Regions from separate parts of the Homo sapiens genome. Here regions 1, 3, 4 and 5 are each linked to region 2. The links are contacts of gene promoters, found by promoter capture Hi-C in blood cells and fetal thymus (Javierre and others, 2016). All regions are on one chromosome and are shown on one strand. The core of a region is centred on a gene start or on the middle of the fragment in contact, and the rest is flanking DNA. Distances in the headings are between cores, read along the strand shown.

What was found. Contacts are between HindIII fragments. The CHiCAGO score rates a contact against its expected background, and 5 or more counts as called.
Region 1: the fragment with the promoter of TEX13B here is called in contact with the fragment with the promoter of PRPS1 in region 2 in 4 of 17 cell types (total CD4 T cells, endothelial precursors, naive CD8 T cells and 1 more); the score reaches 7.2 in total CD4 T cells.
Region 3: the fragment with the promoter of PSMD10 here is called in contact with the fragment with the promoter of PRPS1 in region 2 in 1 of 17 cell types (total B cells); the score reaches 5.3 in total B cells.
Region 4: a contact is called between a fragment that was not itself captured here and the fragment with the promoter of PRPS1 in region 2, in 1 of 17 cell types (non-activated CD4 T cells). The highest score is 5.3, in non-activated CD4 T cells.
Region 5: a fragment that was not itself captured here is called in contact with the fragment with the promoter of PRPS1 in region 2 in 1 of 17 cell types (naive CD8 T cells); the score reaches 6.1 in naive CD8 T cells.

The regions. Positions count from the first base shown.
Region 1 is chrX:107,980,921-107,983,620 of GRCh38, forward strand. TEX13B (testis expressed 13B) reads right to left here and starts at 1,450. Exons shown (of 3, transcript NM_031273.2): 1 at 1,390-1,450; 2 at 749-1,239; 3 at 1-639. The coding sequence starts at 1,207. The coding sequence ends at 160. It also overlaps the pseudogene LOC112267910 and the pseudogene NLRP3P1. The HindIII fragment of the contact is 6,409 bases long and covers 1-2,700 here.
Region 2 is chrX:107,627,158-107,629,857 of GRCh38, forward strand. It overlaps PRPS1 (phosphoribosyl pyrophosphate synthetase 1), which reads left to right and starts at 1,353. Exons shown (of 7, transcript NM_002764.4): 1 at 1,353-1,593. The coding sequence starts at 1,472. RefSeq lists a silencer at 1,191-1,240. The HindIII fragment of the contact is 4,384 bases long and covers 1-1,822 here.
Region 3 is chrX:108,090,147-108,092,846 of GRCh38, forward strand. PSMD10 (proteasome 26S subunit, non-ATPase 10) reads right to left here and starts at 1,396. Exons shown (of 5, transcript NM_002814.4): 1 at 1,261-1,396. The coding sequence starts at 1,374. It overlaps ATG4A (autophagy related 4A cysteine peptidase), which reads left to right and starts at 1,632. Exons shown (of 13, transcript NM_052936.5): 1 at 1,632-1,690. The coding sequence starts at 1,681. RefSeq lists enhancers at 1,145-1,544, 1,595-1,834. The HindIII fragment of the contact is 5,520 bases long and covers 1-2,700 here.
Region 4 is chrX:108,069,247-108,071,946 of GRCh38, forward strand. The region is part of intron 3 of VSIG1 (V-set and immunoglobulin domain containing 1); the gene reads left to right. Among named protein-coding and RNA genes, the nearest start is that of PSMD10, 21 kb to the right of the region's middle. The HindIII fragment of the contact is 1,442 bases long and covers 561-2,002 here.
Region 5 is chrX:108,018,643-108,021,342 of GRCh38, forward strand. It overlaps a transcript of VSIG1 not described here. Among named protein-coding and RNA genes, the nearest start is that of VSIG1, 25 kb to the right of the region's middle. The HindIII fragment of the contact is 5,748 bases long and covers 1-2,700 here.

The DNA.
Region 1 (2,700 bases), core at 200-2,699, 350 kb after region 2:
CATGAAAAATTCACAGCTTTACACCACGGGCAGTCCCAGTTCCCTGGCCTGCGATATACTGGAGGTCTTCTCTGCTGATGGAGTTCGGAGTCTCTCCTGTCTCTTGGGGGCTCTTGAGGGTCTATTCCCTGGGCCTCCACATCTGACCACAGGCTAGCATCAGAGGCCCCCCAGTTGAAAGGCATCTGAGTTGGAACCCGTTCTGTGACCTTTGCTGGTGAAGGGGGTATATTGGGTATGGCTGAGAAGGCGGACAAAGGGCATGGGTATGAGTATGTGAATGAGGTAGGGAGCTGGACAGGAAGAGGCTCCAGTGAGACTGTGGACCCAAGCCCAGAGAAGACAGACATGGCTGTTTGTACTGACCTGAGATCTTTCTCCCTCTGCCCCGCAAAGGTGTAATTTGCCTGCTACAATAGCTCCGAGGGGCTGCCTGAAGCCTCCTCCCAGCCCCTGCAAGACCTCTGCGGGGGCAGGCCCTGCCTCTGCATACCTCTCCTCTCCTTTTCCTCCAGCAGCACCAGCAGCAGCCACCGCCTCCTTTTCCTGCTCACCTGCTCCTTCTGTCCAATCCCCTCCGGCAGTGGCCAGGCCTGGAAACACTGTAGCCTGGCCCTGTCCCTGGGGAGGTGCCAGCTCCTGGAGAGAAGTAGGCAGAGCTGAAACACATTCTGGGGACAGGGCAGGGGGTCCGGACAGGTTGGGGCAGGGCAGAGGCATTGGACAGGGACCATTCGGGGGATCTTACGGCATGGAAGAGCTTCCATCTCAGCATGTCCCGCTCTCTCTGCACCTCCGCAAGGCTGGTCTCGGTTAGCTGCAACTGGAAGGTCGCCTCATTGCATTCCATCTCCTGCTGTTCCTTGAGTTCCGTCAGGTTTGAGGCCAAGACCAGCGCAGCTGATCTGTGCAGTTTGGCAAAGCCTTGCAGCCACTGCACCCTGCGGTTTTGTAACTGCCCCTGCCTGTGGGCAAAGCGCACACCCAAGGCCAGGCTGCCCCAGGTGCAGGCCTCTTTGACCTCGCTGGGCACCTCGCTGTCCTCCAGGATGGCCCTGAGCTTGTCTTCCACCTCCTCCCAGGATAAGGATATATTCTCGAAGTAGAACTCGGGGCCTTTCGTGTGCCTGGCCATTTTCTCGATGATGAAGGCCACCACGTTTCCGTGCCGGAACCCACTACTGGGGTCCTCAGGTCTCAAGGCCATGATCGCCTAGGGGCTTAACGGTTTCACTAGCCCTGTGTGGATGGAGCAGCCAATAGGTTTCTTTCCTCCTCCTTAGCCCCTCCCCTCATCTGTCTTCTCCGCCCTCCCACCTCTGACAAGACCCTCCTAATGACCCTCTGACCGGCTTGTCCTACCCTAGGACATCTCCCACCAGGCCTCACCTCTTCAGCCAGGGCCAGAGGAAGTACAGGCCAACCCCGCTGCTTAACACGCCTGAAGAGAGGGTGGCCTCTTTCCCTCCTAGGGCTCTGCGGGAAAAGAAGCCTCAGGGCCAACCCATGAGGATTTTACTCTGGGACTGTTCCAATTTCCAGAGACTGTAGGGGTGAAAGGGAGTGAGTGAGGAAGGCCTCTGCCATTCCACTGGGACAAAAGGGAACCTGCCACATGGTCGGGAGACCTTGAAGGCTGAAAGAAACAGGAGTGGTCCGGAAGGACTTAGGACCAAAAAAAGTATTTGTGAACAAGTTGAAGACTTATCCCTCCCCATCATAATGGTTTGTGCCATGCCAGGGGAGTTTCGCCCCCAACTGGAATATTCTAGAGCAGGAAACAGCCCCAACCCCTCAGTTGCCCTTGGAGGAAGAGGGTGGAGCCAGGAGCGGAGCTTATCCCCTGTTTGCTCAGGACTAAACATCCCAGACACCCTAACAAATCCTGGCCTGCCTTTCCTCCCTTAGCTCCTCTTTCCCCACACTCCTCCCATCACCCCTTCTCCCACTCCTCCCCTACTGAAACGCCTTGAATCTTGAAGCAACTGTGGGAGAAAGAGAGTTAGGAGTAGCATAAATACACCTTTTTACCAAAACATGAAATATCAGAGATCTTCCATCAGAGGGATATGAATATGTCTCTTAAAACCTTCGGCCGGGCGCGGTGGCTCATGCCTGTAATCCCAGTACTTTGGGAGACCGAGATGGGCGGATCACGAGGTCAGAAGATCGAGACCATCCTGGCTAACAGGGTGAAACCCCGTCTCTACTAAAATTACAAAAAATTAGCCAGATGTGGTGGCACGCGCATGTAGTCCCAGCTACTCGGGAGGCTGAGGCAGGAGAATCGCTTGAACCCACGAGGCGGAGGTTGCAGTGAGCCGAGATCGCACCACTGCACTGTAGCCTGGGTGACAGAGTGAGACTCTGTCTCAAACAAACAAACACAAAAACAAGAAAACCTTGAATGACTTTCTGAGACCCACAAGATAAATCAGACAAATCTCAGGTTGAGTCCAGCGTTGCTACGTATTACATGACATTGTACTGTAACTGAATCTGTTTCTACCTATGGATCTATGATGATGGCCAATGACAAAAGGGCATGTAAAGTTGTAGGAGTAATGTTTTCTATGATCCCGTATTTGTGTGTATGTGTGTGTTTGCATATGTTTGTATGTTTCTATAATCTTGGAGAACAGAATGAGAGAGGATATATAGCAGACTCAACATTAATTATCTCTGGGAAGTGGGGTTGGA
Region 2 (2,700 bases), core at 103-2,602:
CTTGCACACTGCCTTGCATGCAATAGAACACTCAGTAAATATTTGATGAATGGCCTATGATGGAAGACTACTAATATTCTGCCTTGCAGTTTACTTCCTTCTCCAAGTATTCCTATATACATGGGCCTACATTAAATTTCTGAGCTTGTAAAAGTGCAAAAAAGGTCAGAAGGAGAAGTCCTCCATGGACACTGCTGAAAATAGCAGTAAGACAAAGACAGGATGCTGCTTTGAGTATTTTCTGCCTTTGCCACTTAGATAAATCCCTCTCCCACCTCCATCTCAGTTTTATCATATGTAAAACGACTATATGATCTCTGAGGTCCCTTCTATTTTTACATTTGGTAGTTATGAGCACTATGGTCACTTTTGATTCCAGAATTGTATGATTTTTATCTTCTCCTAACCCATGCTTAAAATATGCTTAATGGAAACATGGTGCAAGAATAAAGGCTCACTTAGGTCCAATTAACAAGTATCGCTATAAAAATAATAAAACATGGTGTAAAAGGCCACATTAGCAACATGTAGCTGATGACATTGAGGCTTACATGAGGCAGACAGGACTAAAACCCAGGTTTTTTCAAATCCCTTCAGGGCTCTTTATCTGAAGTCCCATAGAACACTATACTTTCTTTCCTTTCCGAGGGCTATAAAAGTTAGATCTTTATTGTCCAGATAGTTTGGAAAATCCATCTTCCTTCACTTGTTTCAACATACTTGGTTCCAGCACTAGAAACAAAACAACTTTCTCTTGCAGTGTCTCTTGGATGATTCAGGTGGCATGCCTTCAGTCACTTCCCCCATGTAAACTGTCTTGCAGGCAAAGGCGACACTGCAATTACAATGGGCAAGCAAACTCCTTGCATGCACGTCTGTGATGTAAAAGTGTTTTAATTCAGCCCCATCCTTATAAAGAGATAAAAAATGTGTTCAGAAACATGCAAACTCGTGGCTGTCATCCTGATAAACAGATTTTCTTAAAGGAAACTGTAAACCAGAGCCAGACTTACTTTCCTGCGCTGAGGGAGGGGAAATAAAAAAGCAGGCATGGTTGATTTCCCGCTAGCGGGAACGATCTGGCCTCAGACGTCACCAGCATCCCTCCACCCCCAGTCCAACGTCTCCTGTCCCCAACAGCCTAGCTACAGGGGGCCGGGCTATGGGTTAGTCTCGCCCCCGTTCATGCTCTTCACCCAATACCTGAGAGAATCGGAAGGAGGCAGAGCTACACCGAGGACCAAACCCCGCCCTTCGCTCCCTCTTAGCTAATCGTTGCCAGCGGGGTGTGGACTTCGCCGCTGACCCCACCTCCGCCGCTTTGGGTAATTTAGAGCCGCGCGCCGGGCGGGAATGTAAGATGGCGGAGTAGCAACGCAAAGCGCTTGGTATTGAGTCTGTGGCCGACTTCGGTTCCGGTCTCTGCAGCAGCCGTGATCGCTTAGTGGAGTGCTTAGGGTAGTTGGCCAGGATGCCGAATATCAAAATCTTCAGCGGCAGCTCCCACCAGGACTTATCTCAGAAAATTGCTGACCGCCTGGGCCTGGAGCTAGGCAAGGTGGTGACTAAGAAATTCAGCAACCAGGAGACCTGGTAAGGACCAAGTTGGGACCCTGACTAGACCTCACCTGCCCAGGCGGCAGAGTATAGGAGGGATGGGGTCGCCGCTTGAGCTCAAACAGACTGGGGGTTGGGGGGAGAGGGTGCAGCTCTGTGACTAGCCTACCCCACGGGCTGTTTCCGTTATTTTACCTCTCGCGGGAGGGTCACGTTCATTCTTACCGTGCGGTGGGGTGGAGTCAAAAGATGGAGTGTGAGGCGAAGCTTCTGCGTTTGAGGGCAAGGGCTGGGGGACCCAATAGATAGTGGCTGCATAGAGCGACGAGAGGGGACCGACGCTTAGCCAGGGCGGTAGGGACACGTGGCTTGGCTTTGCTGTTGAGCCACCCAGGCTGGACTGGGTTGCTTCAGCTCTTAGACTAGCTTGCATTTAGAGAGCCTACCTGCGTACTGAGCTCTCCTGGTCTTTCTTTTCCTAGAGTCCAATAAGCAGCTTTTTGATTCGAAATGGTGTTGGTCCGTTCGGCTTGGTGTTGAGGGAAACTGACATTATATACTGCAGGCGCCAAAATTATTACGACTTCCCTTAGATCAGCAAGCGTTGGCTTTTCTCATCTTATGAATCATCTACCTGAGTAATTGGAGCCATAAATCTAGTTGATTTGTTAAAGTGATGCGTTGACTCTGCATCCTTGATAGCCAGCATCTCAGCTTGAGCCATCCAAAAAATCTTGGAAATCTCAATTCTGGAATGTTTGACCTTCCCCAGTGCAGCTAGTGGTACAGATAATGCAAAAGCGTATTTTTCAGTAACCGAGTCCATCCTGGACTTGGCTCCTTCTTTAAGCTCTGTGTAGGGAATTTAGGAAACAATTTTATACCTGAATGTTAAAGATAATTGAGGACAGGCAATGTAGTGGAAGACTAGGATTGGACAGTGCATTGCAACTTGCGTTTTTTCCATTGCCTTGCCAGTAAAACTTGCTTCCTCGACTCCGACTTACACCCTCTACCGGCACCATGGGACTGTTTTAGAGATGACTTGGTTACCTGATTATTTCAGTGCCCCTTCCACCTAAGTGTGGGATCTTTAGTTTCTGATAGGTGTAATTTGTATTTTATTGTTACCCTATCGATTAA
Region 3 (2,700 bases), core at 146-2,645, 460 kb after region 2:
AAAATAAAGGTATTTCTTATATAACTATGAGACCATTATTACACTTACTAAAATTAACACTAACTCCTTTAGAATGTCTAATATCCGGTCTGTATTCAGATTGCCCCCAACTGTCTCCCAAATGTCTTTTTGCAGTTGGTTTGTTTAAATCAGGAACCAGACGAGATCCATAAATTGCATTTCTTCATGTTTTTTACGTCTCTTGATGCTGAATAGTTCCTTTCCCTTTTTAAGCCACTGACTTGACTGAAGAATGGTTAAATTTCCAATGGAGTATTAAATCTTAATATAAAGTATTACATTTAAATTTAAATCCTTAAATATCACCAGACCATAATGAAGTAAACCAGGTAAAGATAAGGCCATTTTCAGGTTGAGTAATAAAGGAAAGTTCCAGAAAAGAGAAAACAGTCTCTTGATTTCTAATTCTCTCCCAAAAGACACAAAATGGAGATCTGTAAGTATGGGACAGTCTCACTAGTGCTTACGACACTGTCTGCGAAACACAAGGCCATCTATAAATATTTGTGGGCTTACTAAAGGCACCATGAATCCTAGAAACTGAGGATGAAAGCACGAGAGTCCTGTGAGCAGGAGGGCAGAAAGAAACACTTCTAAACTTCTGTCTACCTCTGCTTAGAATGTCCACTCATTCCCCCATGGAAATCCCACTCATGCTTCAAAGTCTAACTAACCTTCCCTTCTTTGCAAAAACTTTTCCAATTAACGACAGTCATATTCAGCATCAGATCCTCCTATTAACGTGTTCTGAAAGCACCATGTAAACTTCTCTGCCGAGTATTTACCACAATTTGTAATCGGACATGTTTTTGTGCTTATTTTATTGTCTGCATCTTCCACTCCACCGTATCCCCAGCTCCTAGCAAACTGCCTGGCACGGAAGGGGCGTTCAATTTCACATGCGTTACTGAATACAGTTACTAGTAAAGGTAAATAAATCCATATAAAAAGCCTTCCTTTTCACTGATTGGGAGTTTCTGAGAAATGCGGTAGACGTTCTAGAACTATCCAAAAATCAGGGAGCGGAGCTCCGGGCCAACGGGAAAATATCTGAGGTCTGTGGGGCTAGCTCCCGCAGGCCTATCGCGAGTCCCGAGGTGACCCAGGGGGACTGCTTGGGGCGGCGGGGGCGGGGTTCTGCTTCTCTCAGAAACGGGGCCTCCGCTAGGGCCGGGCCCCGAAAGCCACGTAGGGCTTCGCCGACGTCGCCGACTGCGGAGAGACCTAGCGTTGCTTTACCTGGTCAGTTCTAGTAGCCAGGGATTTATCGGCCAGAATACTCTCCTTCAACTCTTCCAGCTTCCCGCTGTAGGCCAGGTTGCAGACCATTAGGTTAGACACACACCCCTCCATTTCGCTGTCCCAGCAACTACTTGTCGCGCGAGCAACGCCCGCCTCACGTCGCCGGCTCCGGCTACGCCAGTCAAAACAGCCGTTAGAGCTTCACCAATCACCGGCCTTCCTCGTTCCCTTTTCTTTTCCCGTCGCGCGGCGCCTCTGGGAGTTGCAGTTTGAGAGCAGTTCCGGGCAGGGAGGCGCCTTTGCTGCCCTCACAGACTTGGCCCCTAGCAGTGCAGAACTACAAGTCCCAGGGATCCTAGCGACCGTCCGTCCGTAGTCAAGTTGCCGGTGGAATTGGCCCAGGATGACAGCTGGAGAATGGAGTCAGGTACGGGGAGCGGCTTTGAGTGGAACCGTGTGAAAGAGCCGGGGTGGGTAGTCGCTGGCGGGTCGTTGAGTCGGCCATATGAAACAGGTTCGGGGGCAGGGCAAGAGTTATGAGAGCCTAAAGGTCCTGTCCCCCGGGGTTCCTGACCTGCAGTGGCAGGCGGAAGGGACAAGGGTTGGAGCTGAGTACTACCTACTGAGCTCGAACCGGTGACTGTGGCTACCCTCCCCCTCCCTGCCACCGCCTAGGGAGTGGAAAGAAGTGGGGGTTAATTACTCTGACATCTCGGCGGTGTGGCATCAGGACAGGGTTCTACCACAGCAGTGATAGCATATGGCACCGTACTGAGGTGATGTGCCAGGGTGATGCCAAAGGCAGGGTGTGATGCCGTGGGAGCCACCTGATATCTAAGAGACCTCGGTGAGTCCATAGCCTGGTGACATCACAGCTTGATGAGGGTCATCTTAAGGATACCGGGCTGTGGTGTTGGCATTTTAATATCACGATATTAACTATGTTGTCAAGGCTTTGCTACAACTATTAAGCTAATAGTGTTTCTTTTTATAGAAATCCCAAATAGTGCCATAGCAGAAGCAATGCAAGACTGATCCTTTATAGGGCATATCCAGAGGACATTATGCCACAACTAGGTAACGATAAGAATACATTCAAGAAAGAGACTCATGATGTTTATGTTTATCCTGTTATAGTGTAGAACAGGAGTTGGGAAACTTTCTGTAAAGAGCCAGATAGTAAATATTTTAGGCTTTGTAGGCCAAAAGGCAAAATCAAGAATATTTTGTTGGTACTTTTATGACAAAAGAGAAAACAAATTTCAACAAATTTTTATTGATGAAATTCAAAATATAATAGTAATTGAGTACTTTTTTTGTAATACAGGAAGACTACCAATGAGAAGAATAGAATTCTTTTTAGGGGATAATATTTTGCTTAATTGGGGCTCAGAATTAGTGTTCCCTATTGTCAAAATTGATTTTAAGTGTTCATCT
Region 4 (2,700 bases), core at 32-2,531, 440 kb after region 2:
TTTGTGTCAGATAGCTCTGTGTCATGACTTTTCCTTAAGCAGCCAGGATCCAGACAAGGTAAGAGGCAGAAGGGTCTGTGGATTTCCTTGTTTGTTTAGGAACTCTAAAAAATATTGTTTTTGTTAATTGGGCAAAGAACAAAGGCCTCCTCCAAATGTAGGCTTTTTGGAAAATTTGAGACTGCTAATTTTCTCTAAAAATTGCAGCGACTATTTGCAATTCTCAAATCTCATTGTATATGAGTGACAATTTTGCTTGCCCTGACTGAAAGGTGAGGCAAGATGGGGACAGGTGGGTAAGAGAGACAGGTTAATTGTGGGGAGAGGTGTTGATATTTCCTTAAAGATGACTCTCATAGCAATGTATCTTTCAGATGTTTTGTTACCCAGCAGTGAGCATCAATCCCATGCATTTACTCGTTCATGCATGAATTCATTTAACAAACCCTGAGCACACGTGCCAGTTACTGTGCTAAGCAATGGACATGGGGAAATGTAAAAGATAGGGTCTTAGCCCTCTAAAATTCAGTCTAGTGAAGGAGACAGACGCGTAACATAAAAGCTTTCAGTGGAGGTATGAGAGGAGAGCTATGAGGGCACAGGGGAAAGGGCAAAAAGCTGTATCAGGAATTGGAGAAGGCTTATTGAGGAAAGTGACTTTTGTGCTGAATGTTGAAGGATGTGCAAGAGTGTGTGATGAAGAAGAGGGGCTGAGATGGCAAGGCACAGTTTAGGTGAAGGAAACAGCAATGGGCAAAGAACCAGGTGGTTTGGATGGCCATTCATTTGAGAGCTTTCCATTAGGTATGACAACCTTGGAAAATTAATCTCTGAAAAATACCCAGATCAAGTTTGAATAATTATTTTGTGTGCATTTGGAATGAGCATCATCTACCTTCCGCAATTTGGCACATAAAAAGAAAATGATTGATTTAGGGAAGGTTTAAGAACCTACTGAAGCACTTTGTTTTTTCTTTTTTCTTTTTTTTTCTGAGCTGAGCCTTTTCCTCCCACCCCAATTCTGTTGAAAGCAATAAAGCTAAATGGTAGATCAATGGCTTTGCCAGTAAAATACCCAAGTTCCACTGGGGACTTTAACTGGATGAAATTTCAGTTCAATCCTGGGTCAGTAGTTTTAGAAAATATATAGGTTTGGGACTTGGTTCAAAGTGATTCACTAAATGTTTTGTTAATAAAAAATAAAAGGAGAAAAATATTCTAAGCAAAAAAAATGCCTATCTGGGTTTGATTCTGGGCTCAAGAAATGAGTGCAAGTCATTCCAGGTTTTTGCCATAATTTAGTTCAAGTCCTGGTGTCCAACTTTGTGATGAAACACCCCCATTTAATTTTCTGTTCAAATTGTTCTATTCTGCTGTAAAGGCTATACAATAGCCATCTTTTTAAAAAGGCAGTATCTAAATCTAGTGATAGCTGCAATGGACTTCTGGTTAAATAGCTTAGTTTAGGATAGGCACATCCAACAAGTTGTTCCTACCTGAGAAAATCTTTGATAAGAAAGAATAAAGAACTAAGTAGAAGGATATTCCTTTCAATTAAAAAGACACATGCTTAAAAGATAGGGCTAGTAAACTGTTTAAGAATTATAGCTATATGCATCTGTCTTCTCGCACCTGTGTACAGATAGTGAGAGTCTGGGAAGGCTGAACTGAGCGGAAGTCAATGGGAGAGTAACTTTAGTAGCAGGAATTAGTGCTGCTGTGGCCAACAGAAATTCCAGGTTCTAGGCCCTATATTTATTATTGTATTTAATACTTGGATCAGCCAGAGGTTAGATAATCTCTTAGTCACGTTTTACAGATGAGTCAGCTGAGGTTTGGCTAAGTTAGGTAACTTGCCTATACAGATCCAGGGTAGAGTTACAAAGCCCGTATTCTGTGTGGATCCAGAGCTGTGCCCTTAACCACTGCGTCTCAGGTAAGAGCTGTAGGACTGAGTAATATGACACATTTCATGTCTAACTCACCTAAATTAGAGAACCTAAGCTTTAAAGGGTTCTAGAGCAAAATGAAGATAAGCAAGGTGAGTTGGAAAGTATAGAAATTTACATCATTGTCTGTATATAAGATAGATATATAAGGTGTATAAGATAGATGTATAGATATAAAATAAATATCTAAGATAAGAGATATAAGATAGATATGTAGATATGATAGATATATAAATGTATAAGATATGTAAGATAGAATAAACCGTGCAAGTAAGTAAGATGAATGAGGAGATTCAGATTCCCAGCTTCCCACAGGACTTCTCCCCTGACATGTTTTCATAAGCAGCTAAAACTCTATGTCCCGGACTGACCTCATTAGTACCCCTTCCTCCTTGTCACCCCTTCACCTAAAACCTGTTCTTCCTGCTGTGGTCTTGGAGGCCTCTTCCCCTCTCTAAAGTCATCTCTCATCCCTCTCCCACCCCACTTTAGAACTGTGTGAAAGTTACTTTTGAATTCCTGGTGCCTAGTCCCATGCCAGGCCCACAGAAGGCATGGGTGCTTGCTGAGTGAAGGATGAATAAATATTTCAGTGCTGAGTAGCGTGCACCCCCCAAATGGACTTCCCCTACTGATGATGCACACAGGCAAATTTAAACCTTTCAACTATTTGTGTCACCCACAGATGAACAAATGCAAAAAAAAAAAAAAAAAAGAAAATAATCATGAGAGAAAAGAGAAATACAGCATT
Region 5 (2,700 bases), core at 201-2,700, 390 kb after region 2:
ATTCCAATGTTTAGAATTTGCTTTCACAGAGGAGGACTTTTTTTGAAGGTGTACCTGTGGTGTTACTTGAGTAGGGCACTTTGGCTTTGATTCTGGGTGCATGAAGTAGTGTAGTCTCTGTATGATTTCTTTGTCTGTAAACAGTGTCAGTGGTGTCTGTCATTTCCTTTGTGGCTTAGGGTGTGGTTATTAGTGGAGGTTACAGTGAAGTTCTGCTGGGGACTGGGATGACAGGTAAGCTAGTCTTTGGGCCCTCGTGGTGGTAACGGTGCACTGAGTGCTCCTGTTCCTGGGCTTCAGGGCAGCATATGCTGGCACCACTGTTAGTGTGTCCAGGTAAGCTAATTCTGGGGCCTCCAGGTGGCTTAATTGGGTGCTGGAAGTGGCAGCAGTGGGCCAGGCAGGTGAACAGGTTCTCTAGCCCCTGGGCAGTGAGCATAGCAGGGGCAATGTCGGTACCAGTGGTGAGACAACACTTTGGGATATAAGTGTTCCACTCTGGTATTGGCAGGAGCTGTGATGGGTTGAGAGGGCTGGTGCCCAGAACTGTGAGTGGCAATGTGCAAGTGGGTGCCAGTTGTGGTGATAGCAGAGGTTGAGTGTGCCTGACTTCAGACTCCAGGAGGATTACTCAGGTGCCACTATGGTGAACTGGGCTGTGTGACCTGCAGTCCCTGATGTGCTTGTGTACTGGGGTGGAGGTAGCCTGGCCAAATTGTGCTTCAACCCTGCCCCCCCGTGTTGCATATAAATGCTGGCTTTTGTATGCATGGGCAGGGTGAGCCCTATGCCACCAGTGGAATGATCAGGTGGAGGTGGCATGGCTGTGCTGCAGCCCTGATATTGAACAGGTTGAGGTTGCCTTCCATGGGAGCAGCCATAGGCAGAGAGTTGAGGGGCATGGGCTTCACTTGTACCTTGGCCCACAGTGTCTGCAGCTGCAGCAGTTGCAGGCAGTGGAATCTGTCCTTTGCACATGAGAATGTGCAGCCACCCCTCTTCGGGGGAGGTTAGAATTGTTTTCTGTGGCTTCTGCCTCAGCCCTAGTTGCAGGGCAGCATGTAGTCTGGTGTGGGTTGGGCTTTCAAAATGGTGCTATGCTGACACTACTTAGAACTTGGGGGTTTGTGGGACCCAGCATGAGTTTTCCCTCTGAAACAATGCCTTCACACAGTTTCCAGGGAACTTTCTATGTTAGTCTTCGGCCAGCAAGGATTGGGGGACTCTACCACGGCTAGGATTTTAGGAACCTGAAGCAGGAGCCACTGGGAGTCTCTCGCTTATCCTTTCCCCACACAGGAGAGTCTCTCCTGGCTCCCAGCCGATCTTGGTTAGGAGGCCAACTTGCTTCCTTCTCCTTTCTTGCTCTGGGTGTTTCCTGCCACTTCTGTGTTGAATTTCAGTATTCTCTCTGATGATCTATTCAAAGTGTGATTATCTACTCACTATTTTGGTTTTTCCTAGTGGAGGAGGCAAGTAAGAGATGCCTCTAATCAACCATTTGAACGCCTCACCAGGTGGTAATTTTCTATATCTTGTAGGTGATGTTTGTTCCTTTTACCTTTTTTTCTTTTTCCCTTTGTGTATTTTCAAATAGCCTGTCTTTGAGCTCACTGATTCTTTCCTCTGCTTGATCCATTTGGCTATTGGAAGCCGCTAATAAATTTTTCATTTCAGCAAAAGTATTTTTCAGTGATTCCTGTATGATTTTTTAAAAAAATCAATCTCTGTTAAATTTTTCTGATAAATTTCTGAATTGCTTTTCTGTGTTATCTTGGAGATCACTGAGTTTCCTTAAAACTACTGTTTTGAATTCTTGGTCAGAGAGGTTAAATATCATCATCTAATTAGGGTGTGAATCACTGGTTGCTTGCTTTGTCTGTTTGAGGAGGTCTTGGTTTTGTGTTTGCTGTTGTTTCTTGTGTATGTACATCTATGTCTTTGCAGTGAAGGATTAGCTACTTATACCAGTCTTCTCTGTCTGGCTTGTTTTGGTTTTTATTAAATATGTTTGATTAGAGATTCTTTGCAATTTACCTGTTATCTTTTTTCCCACTAGGTCACTGCCTCTTTTTTTGCACTAGATGGCGCCTTAATTAAGCTCAGGTTTGCCTCCTCAGTTCTGGTACTCAATCAGGGTGCCACCAGTCCGAAATGGGGAAGGTCCCAAATAGGATATCCTGTTAGTATGGGAAGACTGGTCAGGGGTTCATGCCTGGAGATCTGTGGAATGAACCTCTTACAGCATGGTGCTGCTGAACAGCTAATCTGTTTTGGCATCTCTTGACTGATTTACACAGCAGAGTTTCCAGGGCTGAGGATGGCAGTCCCACTTCCCCTACTTGTCTGTGGCTGTCTACAGAAATATTCCTCTCTTCAGGTACTCTCAATGCTTCCCATGAGTTGAGGCAGAGACAGGTCTCCTGTCAGGTAACCTAAGATGATGGGAAGCTGTTGTTTACCTCAATCATACTTTTTCCAGTGTGGAAACTATGAGTTGGGGGAAATTTTTCTATGCACTTAGTGCTGGGCAGATTGGGGGAAAGGGCATCACAAATATGGAAGTTTGATCCTCTAACATCTGCTCAGAGTTTTTTTCACTTCTCTGCTGCCCTGGGAACTGTCTTATCCTCATATTTGAGTTCTGGGATGTTGCTGGTGATAATCTCAATGCCGTATATTTGTTTTTGGTTTTGAGGG